Regions from separate parts of the Homo sapiens genome. Here regions 1 and 2 are each linked to region 3. The links are contacts of gene promoters, found by promoter capture Hi-C in human tissues and cell types (Jung and others, 2019). All regions are on one chromosome and are shown on one strand. The core of a region is centred on a gene start or on the middle of the fragment in contact, and the rest is flanking DNA. Distances in the headings are between cores, read along the strand shown.

The links. Contacts are between HindIII fragments. The study calls those that stand out against the background at their distance.
Region 1: a contact is called between a fragment that was not itself captured here and the fragment with the promoter of TSNARE1 in region 3, in 2 of the 25 tissues and cell types used here (dorsolateral prefrontal cortex and lymphoblastoid cells).
Region 2: a fragment that was not itself captured here is called in contact with the fragment with the promoter of TSNARE1 in region 3 in 4 of the 25 tissues and cell types used here (IMR-90 fibroblasts, dorsolateral prefrontal cortex, mesenchymal stem cells and 1 more).

The regions. Positions count from the first base shown.
Region 1 is chr8:141,757,226-141,760,841 of GRCh38, reverse strand. No RefSeq gene overlaps it. Among named protein-coding and RNA genes, the nearest start is that of MIR1302-7, 27 kb to the left of the region's middle. The HindIII fragment of the contact is 7,477 bases long and covers 1-3,616 here.
Region 2 is chr8:141,774,908-141,778,364 of GRCh38, reverse strand. No RefSeq gene overlaps it. Among named protein-coding and RNA genes, the nearest start is that of MIR1302-7, 9.7 kb to the left of the region's middle. The HindIII fragment of the contact is 7,354 bases long and covers 1-3,457 here.
Region 3 is chr8:142,401,790-142,405,171 of GRCh38, reverse strand. It overlaps TSNARE1 (t-SNARE domain containing 1), which reads left to right and starts at 1,990. Exons shown (of 14, transcript NM_145003.5): 1 at 1,990-2,068. RefSeq lists silencers at 1,092-1,141, 1,582-2,151, 2,292-2,431 and an enhancer at 1,085-1,860. The HindIII fragment of the contact is 11,624 bases long and covers 1-3,382 here.

The DNA.
Region 1 (3,616 bases), core at 355-2,854, 640 kb after region 3:
CACAGACCCTGGCAGCTGAGCACCCCTCGAAGCTCAGCTTCATCACGCCCCGTGCGCTCTGCCCGGTGCGCTCTGCGGCAGCCCAGGGGCCGGGGCCGCGAGGGTCTGCAGCGAGGACAGAGGACAGAGGACAACTCGGGCACCGTCTGACCACTCCAAGCTGACCACCGCCGGGTGGGGACTGCTCCTGCTTTGGATCACTGTGATGCTCTCACACCCCGAGGGGGTCTCGGCGCCGCGTTCTCTGTTCCGTGGACTAGCTGGGCTGCCCATCATCCCCGCCGGGGGCGACCCTCTGCCCTATCTGGCAGAGACCTGGTCCCTGGGAGCGTCTGTGGCACTGAGGAGTATATCCAAACACCTTCCATGGCCTGCGAAGCCCAGAATTACTCAGGGGCCACCCCCAACTCTGGCCTTCTCTCCTGTCCACCCTGTGGCAGCCTCAGCCTCATACCAACACCACCCCTGCCCCTTCCTCACCTCTCCCAAGGAGCGCGGCTCTGTACCAGCAGCCTTCCCTGCCCGCTGCCACCATGCTTAGTCCTCCTGGCTTGGTCCTCCCAGGCAGCACTGGCCCTCACCCAAAACTCAATAAAGAGAGCCTTTTGCCACCTATGTTGTTTGGACCCCGCCTTAAATGTAAGTTCCATGAAGCAGGAGTGAGTGCACAGCTGGGCTCCTCTGCCGTGACATCCCCAGGGGACAGTGAATACGAGGAACAAGTCTGGCCACAGGACACTCAGAACTCTTTGATGAATGCGTGAATGAATGAATGAGCGACTGAATGAATGAATGAATGAATGAGTGAAACTCCCCTGACCTACCCTTCCCAAATCTGGGCCAATTTCTCATTAAGAATTTCCTGAACTTGGAAAGGAATGTTTTAGATGATGGATGAGGATGAGGAAGAAGAGAGTCCTCTAGAGTTTCCCAGGAGGAGGAGGCTGGAACCAAAAGGCGGAGGTGGGAGAGGTGGAGAAGGGCCCTGCGGTGGGGTGGAATGTGATGGGATGAGCCTCAGGAGCTGCTGGAGGCCCACGTGTGGGAAGCGGCTGGCAGTGGAGGTGCCTTGCGGCCGGGCCGTGGTGGAGGGCATGCCTCGGAGCGGGTGGCAGTGGCGGGGAAGCTGCAGAGGAAAAGAGGGAAGGAAAAGAACATGAGCAAGTCTCTCTCAACACCAGGGTCAGGCTGATGGCTTATCCCACATCCACTCTCTGACTGCACACCGTCCAGGGGACCCGGTGTTATCCCCCCTCAGCGGAGGAGGAAGCAGAGCCCCGTTTGCCCTGTAAGTGGCAGAGCCCAGGCCCGATGGACGTCAAGCCTTCCTCTTTCTCTAAATAATGGGGTGGCCTTGGGATGGGGCTGGGGTCTGGTCTGGAGCCTGCAAGCCCCAGCTCTCTCAGCCCTGCCCCCGCTCACCCCTGCCCCGGCCCTCACATAGAAGCCGTCAACACTCTTAGCCGAGCCAGGCGTCCCCAGAGCCTGGTCATCCTGATGCCGCCTATGCGCTGGTCATGATGGTGGCCTGGGTAACCAAGGTAACATTGACCTGTGCCCCAGGAATTTCCCAGAGGGCCAGCATGGAGCAGGGCCCGACAGAAGTGCTGCTCAGAGCCTTGGCGTGCTGTCCAAATGCCAAACGCTTATTAATCTCCCAGCGCAAGGCTCCCTGAAGTGATTGCCCCCGCCTCCTCCATCTCCTTTGTCTAGGGCATAATTGTCCAGACCCTACCTCTCCAATTCCTTAATTAATTGCTTTGAGGAAGGCAGCATGGCTGTTAACTCCTTCCCGTCTGCACCTCATCTCCAAGGAAAGTGACAGGTGCTGGAAGGGGACTTTGCACGTAACCTAGACTGGGGTCAGGACCCCAGGCTCTGGACCCCTCCACTGCCCCTCGCTGCAACCCTCAGTTCCCCGTTTCTGAAATGCAGATAAAGCCCCTGCCCTGGCTGTAGTTAATTCATCTGCTCTGTTTAATTCAACTCCAAATCTCTTGACAAGGATTAGAACCATTCAAGCGTATCTATCACACTAGTCAGCTTGCGGGAAGGCCTGTTACAGAGATGAATAAATTGGAGGAGGAGGTGCAGGGGAGGGAGAGCTGAGGAGGGGAGAGGCCTTCCACAGGTGCAGGCATGACAGGTGCATCCCCGGCCGGAGCATGGGGGCTCTCCACACAGGGCAGGAACCCAGGGGACCTGAAGGAAAGGGAAGATGGCAGGAGCCGTCAGCAGCCACGGCTTACTGATGACAGCCACAGCCACCACATGTGCAGCGCCCACTCAGTGTGCGCCAGGCACTGCCCTGAGCTTGGGGGTCTAGCCCAGCAGCCTCCTGCACGTACCGCATGTGATGTGGGAGCCAGAGACGGGACTGGGAACTGGGGCCTTGTGCCCAGAGGCAGCTGCAGCTTTTAAAAGGCCTCTAGGGTCAGAGGTCATGATGAGGATGGAGTGCTCAAGAGTCCAATGATCTTTCTCTCTTTCTCTCCCCGGCACGTGCATCCCTTTGAATGAATGTTTATTGAAGGAGACATGTGCCTCTTGTCATGAGGAGCTCGCCTTGCAGCTGGAAGCTCCTGGAGTTTCTAAAATGCCTGCCACCTCCTTTGAGCCTCCTAGTAACCAGAGGGCTAGGCAAGGTGGTCAGGACGAACCCCCTTATACAGATGGTAATGCCAAGGCCAGAGGACAAGCCCAGCTCTGCCGGTGCTCACTGGCAGATAGAAAAAGGGTAATGAGATGGGGCTCTGGGCTGCCAGATGGTTCTGGAAACAGGAGGAGGTCAGGAAAGCAAGGAAAGGCTGGCAGTGAAGGGCTGTGAGGTGAGCCAGGCAGATGAGAGCCAGGCCTGGGTTCCAGCCTTGCTAGAGGCCATGCCAGGACCTTCACCTTCCTCAGGCCCAGTAGCCGAGGTGTGAGAGGTGCCCACAGAGCTTTCCCCTCGGGGCTGGGAACAGTGAGGTGAGTGAGACAGGTGTCTGCCTACAAAGGAGGTGCCAGAAAACTCAGTGATCCAGACGAATACTATTCCAATGCATTTTTGGAAACAAAATTATTTTTTTAAACTCCAAGGTGAACAAAATATCAAATTGTTATAAGGATAGGATCCCGCAGGGCCGAGACTCTGGTGAGGTAAACGCAGAACCCTCAGCGACCAATAGGAGTGATAATTTCATGCAGTGTTTCCAATGCATCAGGACCTGAATATCAACTTTTTTTTGGATTTTTTCATGAATTTTAATGGACAACTAAAAAGTGTATGTGTTTATGGTATACAGCATGATGCTTTGAAATATGAGTGCACCATGGAATGGCTAGCTGGGGCCCAGGAACACATGCATTCCCTGGAGGGCTACTATGTTTTGTGAGAACACTTAAAATCTTCTCCCTCAGAGATATTCGAGAGTATAACACATTTCAATAACCACATTTCCAGCGAAGACAGGACTCCACCCTGTGCTTACACAACTCACCTCAGCTGCCTTATGCTACCCCCAGCCTTGACGGAGGCTATCTTGATCTTAAATTTTGTTATTTTGCTTCTTCTGAATGTGTTTGCGTTAATTTGGATTTTTTAAGTGTGGTGTTAAAATAGCATTTGTCTTGGTTA
Region 2 (3,457 bases), core at 300-2,799, 630 kb after region 3:
TTGGGGACATGTTTGGACTGTGGTCGGGCTTAGCCACTTTGCCCTCAGGACAGTCCTGGATGGTGGGTCCATTATTGTCCCCGCTTTACAACAAGGAGCCTGGGGCACGATCAAGTGAGATGACCAAGGTCACAGGAGCCCAGTCCCCCGAGCCCATGCCAGGCCTGCTCTCCACCTGGGGAATGCACCCCTCCTAGGCCTCTGCTCCTTACATGTGGGAGGAGAGGGGATGAAGGCTCTACCTGAGGGGTCACTGCAGTGCAGTGGGCAGGGGCATCTCGGCCATGCATGGAGGAGGGTTGGCACCCACAGTGCAGGAGGCAGGGAGCATCTCACATCGACCAGGCTGGGTGCAGGCCCAGCGACAGGCACTGCCTTGGTGCCGCATCCAGCCTCCTCCTCCTGGTTCCACTTCTCCACCATCGTCACCACCACCACAGCCTCCACCTTCTCAGGCAGCCAAATGAACCAGTTTCAATGTGGGTTTCACATCTCTCAATGAAAATCCGTTCTTCCTTCAGTGAAAGTGCCTAAAATGCCACCACTAAGTAAAATCTGAATCATAAGTCAGCATTATAAAATATTAGATCAGATTTTATATTCATCCAGGGCAAGTTTCATTCTTCCCAGGTCTCCTGCAGAAATGGACATTCCATGGTCAGCTCTGGCCTCTCCAGACATCAGCTCACGGACCCTGGGGCCTCCCAATCCCCCAAGGGCTCAGCCACCTGCTGAGAGCCAGAGGGGTGCTGCCAGGGGAGAAGACACACACAAGCACTTCTAACTTCAGTTCTTCCCATCACCGTGCTTTTCACCACGTCACTGTCACATGGCACTGAAGAAACGCCCCAGAAAAGGGACCCCAAAGACCCAGGCAATATCCATCACTCATTATTTGTACAACTTCAGAAACACAATGTCTTCCTTTTGGCCTCATTTTCTTATTCATTTACTCATTCATCAAATACTGTGTGGAGCTCTGTGCACTTTTCTGGGCAAAGAGCTGCCAGGAAACAAGACAGACGTGGTTCCCGCCTCATGGAGCACATCTGTCTGCAGGGTTTAGGCGGCTTTTGCTGCAGACAATGAATCTCATGCCTCACTGGTTCCTAATGGCCGGCATTTGCTTCTAAGCACAGGAGTCTGCGGGTCTCACCTGGGCCCAGCCAGGCACGCCCAGGCCTCCGGGGCCTGGTTCTGGGCTCAGGCTGATGAGGCAGTAGCCAGCAGGGCTTGCTGGCCTTGCAGTGGAGGGCAGAGCAGCAGAGGGGTGAGAGGAAATGAACAGTGTCCCCAAAGTGGCCCTGACCCACTTCCACCACGTCCTATTGGCCGAGCCATGTTTCACATCCAAGCCCAGCACCCGTGGGCAGGGCCGTGCCCTCCACTCGCAGTGGGGGCTCTGTCAACTCACTCGGTAGAGGGCATAGATGTAAAATTTCAGCCCAGGGAGGGGGCAGAGAGCCCTCTTCCCATCTACTCCAGTGGAAGCAAAACAAAAGTGTGTAGAAAGGCCAGGTTGTGAGAGACGCTAAGATAGGGAAGCAGGAGCTGAGGAGGAGTGAGGGGTCCATGTAGGTCCAAGGGGCCCGAGGGGTCCGAATACCCCGCCCCAGCTCCCTTCCAGGGACTCACTGTTCCCCAAACCTGTGCCACGCAGCATCGTCTACTGCCTCTGAGCTGCAGACGTCACTGGGAGGGCCCCTTTAAATTTTCATCCACTCAGACCAAGAGGACGGGAAACACACACCACAGTGATCAGGGCCCGCTCCGTGCCTGGCTCGGGGCCAACGGCACTTTCGGTGTCGTTTCGTTACAGCCGCACAACCTCGGTGCCACCCCTTTCCACTCAGCTGATTGGAAAGCTGAGTTGAGGAGAGGACGACAGCTGCTCACAGACATCGAGAGGAGCAGAGCGGTCCCCGGCCTTCAGACACACAAGCCAGGCTGTGCCCTCGTGGGGCCAGGGCAGTCAAGGCTGTGATTCTGGGGTTCACCCCCCAGATGAGAGAGCCGCCACTCCCCCAGAGGGAAGCTGAGGCTCGGTGGGGAAGGGACCAGCTCTGATCCAACAGGGTCACCAGGATCCCAGCCCGGGTCCAGGAAGGGCAGACAGGACTGGGTCTGCAGAATTCAGAACCCCCCCTTCCCATTAATTCACGCTCCTCCGAGGATCCCTACCAGGCCAACTTCCAGCCATGCTGGCCGTGCTGAACTCTCCCACCTGAGCTGGAAGAAGGCTCAAGCGGTTGCCACGACCCTTCGTCTTTGAGAGGGGTCTAAACAAACACACAGCCGCCTGCCTTTCTTCAAAATGAAATTGAGTTTTATATGTCAGCATTTGGCCAGGAAGGAAAAAATAAATGCCACTGAAGGCCAAGCTGTCTTGCCCACGTTGTGATCATTTACCAGAGCTTAAATGCAGCAGTTAGCACGGAGTGAAATAAGAGAGCCCCGGGAGGAGATAAGACCCAGCATCTCACAATGGCTTCCAAGAGCAACTGGATGTCACAGTTGCCAAGGAGTTTGGGACACTCTGGACAGGAGAATTGTTGTTTTCCTTGGCAGAAAAATGAGCCTTCCACACACAGCTAAATACCACTAGCTTTGCTTCACCGCTGTGTGGCTGCTTTGCAGCAAATCCCCCTGGCAGGCTGGTTCCCTCTCTCTGAGCCATTTCCCTCCACCCCTGGCCTCTCAGCAAGGGCCTCAGGCTGCACGGAACACTCCTTCCCCAGGGAAGTGTGGGCCACCAAGCCAGCCTGCCTGCCCTGCATGCGGGGCCGGGATCTGGCTGCCTCTGTTCCTTCCTGATCTTCATCCTCTGCTTCCCGATGGGGTCTCCTCTTGGGCACATGCAGGCATTTGCCTGGGTCCTCACCCTGAAGTCCTCCCCTGGTCGCCTGGGGACAATTGTCTTGCCTGCCGCTAAAGATGACACAGAAGAAATCCACTGGACAGAAAGATGGTGTTTGTGTGTGGATTTTGGCTTTGAAGTCCAGTCATCATCTGACTGGCCCCCCGTGCAGAGGCCCAAGGAACTTCTCCATCTGGATTATGCTAAAAAGTGTCCAAGGTCCAAATCGTGCTTGGGGCCACCAGAGTACCCTTACCAATCCCAACCTCACCTTGGTCCTCATCCCTCCGTGGGGTGCAGACAACCAAATCCCGCTTCCTTCCACGTATTCCTGGCTCCACTGGCTGCAGCTGCTGCAAACTCCCATAGGCTCTCATAGGCCTCCAGCCAGGTCCCAGCTCACACTCCTGCCCCTTCCCCATCTGTTCACACGGAGCCAAATTCTGCCTTCAAATGTAACTCTAGCTTCACCCCTCCCCTCCCCAGGCTGACTTCTCTGCATGGGCTGCTGGGCCCTGCACAGTCCCATCCCTGTGCCAATGGCAGTCACGCCTGCCAACAGCCACATGATGCCTTCAGCTCCCCAGAGGATCCACGCCC
Region 3 (3,382 bases), core at 741-3,240:
CCTCCCCATCGGCTCAGCCTGAGGGAGTGGGCTCCTGGCTCTTCCACGGAGAGGTTTACCTTCCCTGACTTGCTGTGGGGCACTCAGGCGGGCTCATCCCAGATTTCGGAGGAGCCAACAGGTACGGAGCCCCTCCTCTGGTGGTTCCTACCCACGCTAGACCATTCCCCCTGCAGTGTCCAGGCACAGAAACAGCCCCATATACGCCTTGTATGGTCAAGAAAGCGGCTCCTGGAGGTGGTCTGCCCTGGGAGGAAAGGGCTTCACTTTCCCCTCCTTTGCACACCTGAACACGGAGCTGTCAGAGGAGGCTGAGTGAGGTGGCGGCCAGACAGACAGCGCCAGCCACGGAAGGGGAGGTGGGCACCGTGCCAGGCACCCGGCATCCTCAGTCCAGACTGACAGCTCTCAGACAGGCATTGGTCCTGGCGAACCTTCCCCTTCAAGTGGAAGCTGGGGGGTCAGCAGTCATGGGCATCCTCCCTGGTTAGGAGCCGGCTTCCCTGCACTCTAGCTGTCCTAGCCGAAGAGTGAAGCCCTGTCCAAATCATGGCGAGGCTGCAAGACAGGCACACACTACTGCCTCCTGGGAGCCCAGGGGAGACTGAAATACACCAAGGCAAGGAGCGTGGGTGGGCCCAGGACAGGCCGGCCTGAGCACCAGCCCAGGAATGCTGGTGGGCATGTGCCCCTCTTCCCTCCCACCCATGTGTGCACACATTTGTGCCATATACTACCGTTCCCATGTTTGCGCCTGGGCACACACTTGTGCCAGCATACACACACTTGTGCACTTGCACCTGGTGTCCAGGAACACTCCCTCAGCTCACAGACGTGCGCTGTGTGCACACAGTACCACGCAGTGTCCACGAGCACACTTTTGTGTTCGTGTTCACAGAACCCGTGTGCGCACACATGCACAGTCCTGGGCTGCAGAGAACCCCAGCCAGCGGGGCGGTGGGGGAAGGGGAGGGCACGCCTCCTTCCCAGGAGCTCAGCAAGGCTGTCCGCGGGAGCCCAGGGCTGCCCGCAGGGCTTTGGCGTAGGCCTCGCAAGCACAGCAAGCATCACAGAGTGAGGGCGGCGGGAGAACCTCCGCTTGCCGGAGAAGGTGCAGCGGACTCATCACTCTTGCTCTCCTGCCTTGGGTGTGACTCTTGGTTCACCTCTGGGGAAACAGGCTGAAAGGTGACCCTGGCGGCCCAAGGACACACACCCATTGTCCGCAGGTTCCTCCCAGGTGTCTTCTCCAGCAGGTCACCGGGAGAGCGAGGGGCTGGAGTCTTTCGGGAGCTCAGTGCCCGCAGGCAGAGCAGGGAAAGGGAGGCGCCCCAGGCCCCTGCGGAAGGAGGTCCCAGGAGGGTCTCCGCAAGGGGCTCCCTACTCTGCACTTCAGCTCCTCCAGGGAGGGGCTGCGACCTCGGGCAAAGGTCCCTCAGATGTCTTGAGACTCAGTTTCCTCGTTGGTGACACTGGGAGTCCGGAGTCCCCGCGGGGCCTGCCAGCCCCCGGCCGAGCACGGCCCCACGCGGAGCCCGTGCAGCCTGACTTGGGGCCCAACGCCCGTCCCCGCAGCGCGAGACGCGCAGGTGCCCGGCCCTGCCCTGGCCGAGACCCGCCGCCTGCGCAGCCCCGCAGAAGCTCCAGCTTTGGCCCGTGTGAGGTCCGGGCTCGGCCTGGGCTGGGCGGAGCCCGCTCCCGAAGCGCCTCAGCGCCGGGCCGCCGCCCTCCACGTGACCTCCACCTTCGCCGTCATCCCCATATGCAAAACGGGGAAACGGGGAAACGGAGGCCCACCACCAGGCAAGTGAGGACAGCCGACTCGCGCGCGCACCCGCAGAGGCCTCTTGGCCCAGCCGACCGCCGTCCGCGCCGCTTCCGGCTCCGCGCCGGGGCCTCTGGGGCGGGTAGTCCCCGCGCGCGTCCGGGACCGGCGGCCATTGGCTGGTGCGGGAGGGGGCGCGCACGCCGGCGGCGGGAGGGGCCGTCACGTGATGTTTGGGTGCCCGCCCCGCCCGCCTCGCCCGCCGTGAGCGCCCGGAGCGGTCCGCGAGCCACCGAGGCCCAGGTGAGGCGGCGGCGGTGGGGCTGGGGCCTGGCCGGGGCCGGGCGTGGGGCGGCGAGGGCGAGGCGGCCGGGGACCAGCGCGGGGCCCGGAGCCCGGCGGGGGCCGCGGCGTGGCGTGGTATGGGGCTTGCGGGAGGCCGGGCGGGGGGCGGGGCCGCGCCGGTGGGGAGGGGAGGGGGCGGGACCGTGCCGGGGGTGGACCCCAGGGGCGCCAGGGACCCTGAGCCGCAGCCCCGCGAGAGCGCCGCATTTCGGGGACCGGCCCGCGGGCACATGAGCCCCTCGGCGGGTCCTCGCGCGCTGTTCAGACCCCAGGTCGGTGGGCTCTGGGCCGGGCAGCCGGTGCCTGCGCCTGGAGGTCAGTGCCGTCCCGGGGAGCGCCCCAGCGCCTACTTGCTGGGTGCAAGGGTTGGTGCCCTGCAGCTCAACGAGCGGAGCCCGCCTTCGAGCCTGAGCTGGGGACCCCGTTCCTGTGTGCTTGCCTCTCCATGCCTTTCTGTCCCTTCTCCAAGTTGTAAGAAGGTGCTTCCTGGGTACTGGGGCCTGCGACATCCCCACCAGGGACTTTCAGGTGATGTTGATCTGTGCTGCCCCCGCAGAAACTCTCCAGGGACCTCGTGTTTGTTGCCTCATGGCGCACTCCTCCTGCTCTGGAAGCTCTGCCATGTCCAGTGTGGTAGCCCCTAGGCATGTGTGGCTGTTTACATTGTCCTTAACGTGAAGGATTCAGGTCCTCCGTGCCAGTGGTCACATGTCCGACACTCAGTAGCCACACGTGTCTGGTGGCGGCTGTGTGGGGCAGCGCGGGTAGGGAACACTGCTTATCACAGGAAGTTCTGTGAGCGGTGTGGTGCGGCTCAAAATGGGCCTCGCGCGTGCTGCTCCGCCGGTGCTTCTCCGCCCCTCATCCTGCCAGGTGCCTTTCCAGCCACACCTGGCGCCCTTTCTTTCCTCTGCTGCACACTTGCCTCTTCTTTTAGTTCCTGGCTCGCTCCTGGCTTGGGGGCAGCTCCGCTTCCGGTATGTCTGAGCTCACCTTTCTGACCGCTCTCCCTACAGTATTTCTTGTTTGTCATTGTCACTCATCTGCTTGTTTTCTGTTTTATCTTTAGTGCCTGTGAGACAGGGGTGGGGATTGTTGCTTAGGATACTCCCAGTGTGGACACAGTATTGAGTTGAAAGAAAGCTGAAGTTTGTTAGTACTGGAGTGCTTCCCCCGACTGAACCGCTGCTTTCATACCGTTCGACCCCATACATCACAGGACCGCAGCAGAAATCTGGTAGAACAAATGTTTGGACACAGCAGCACAGGCCG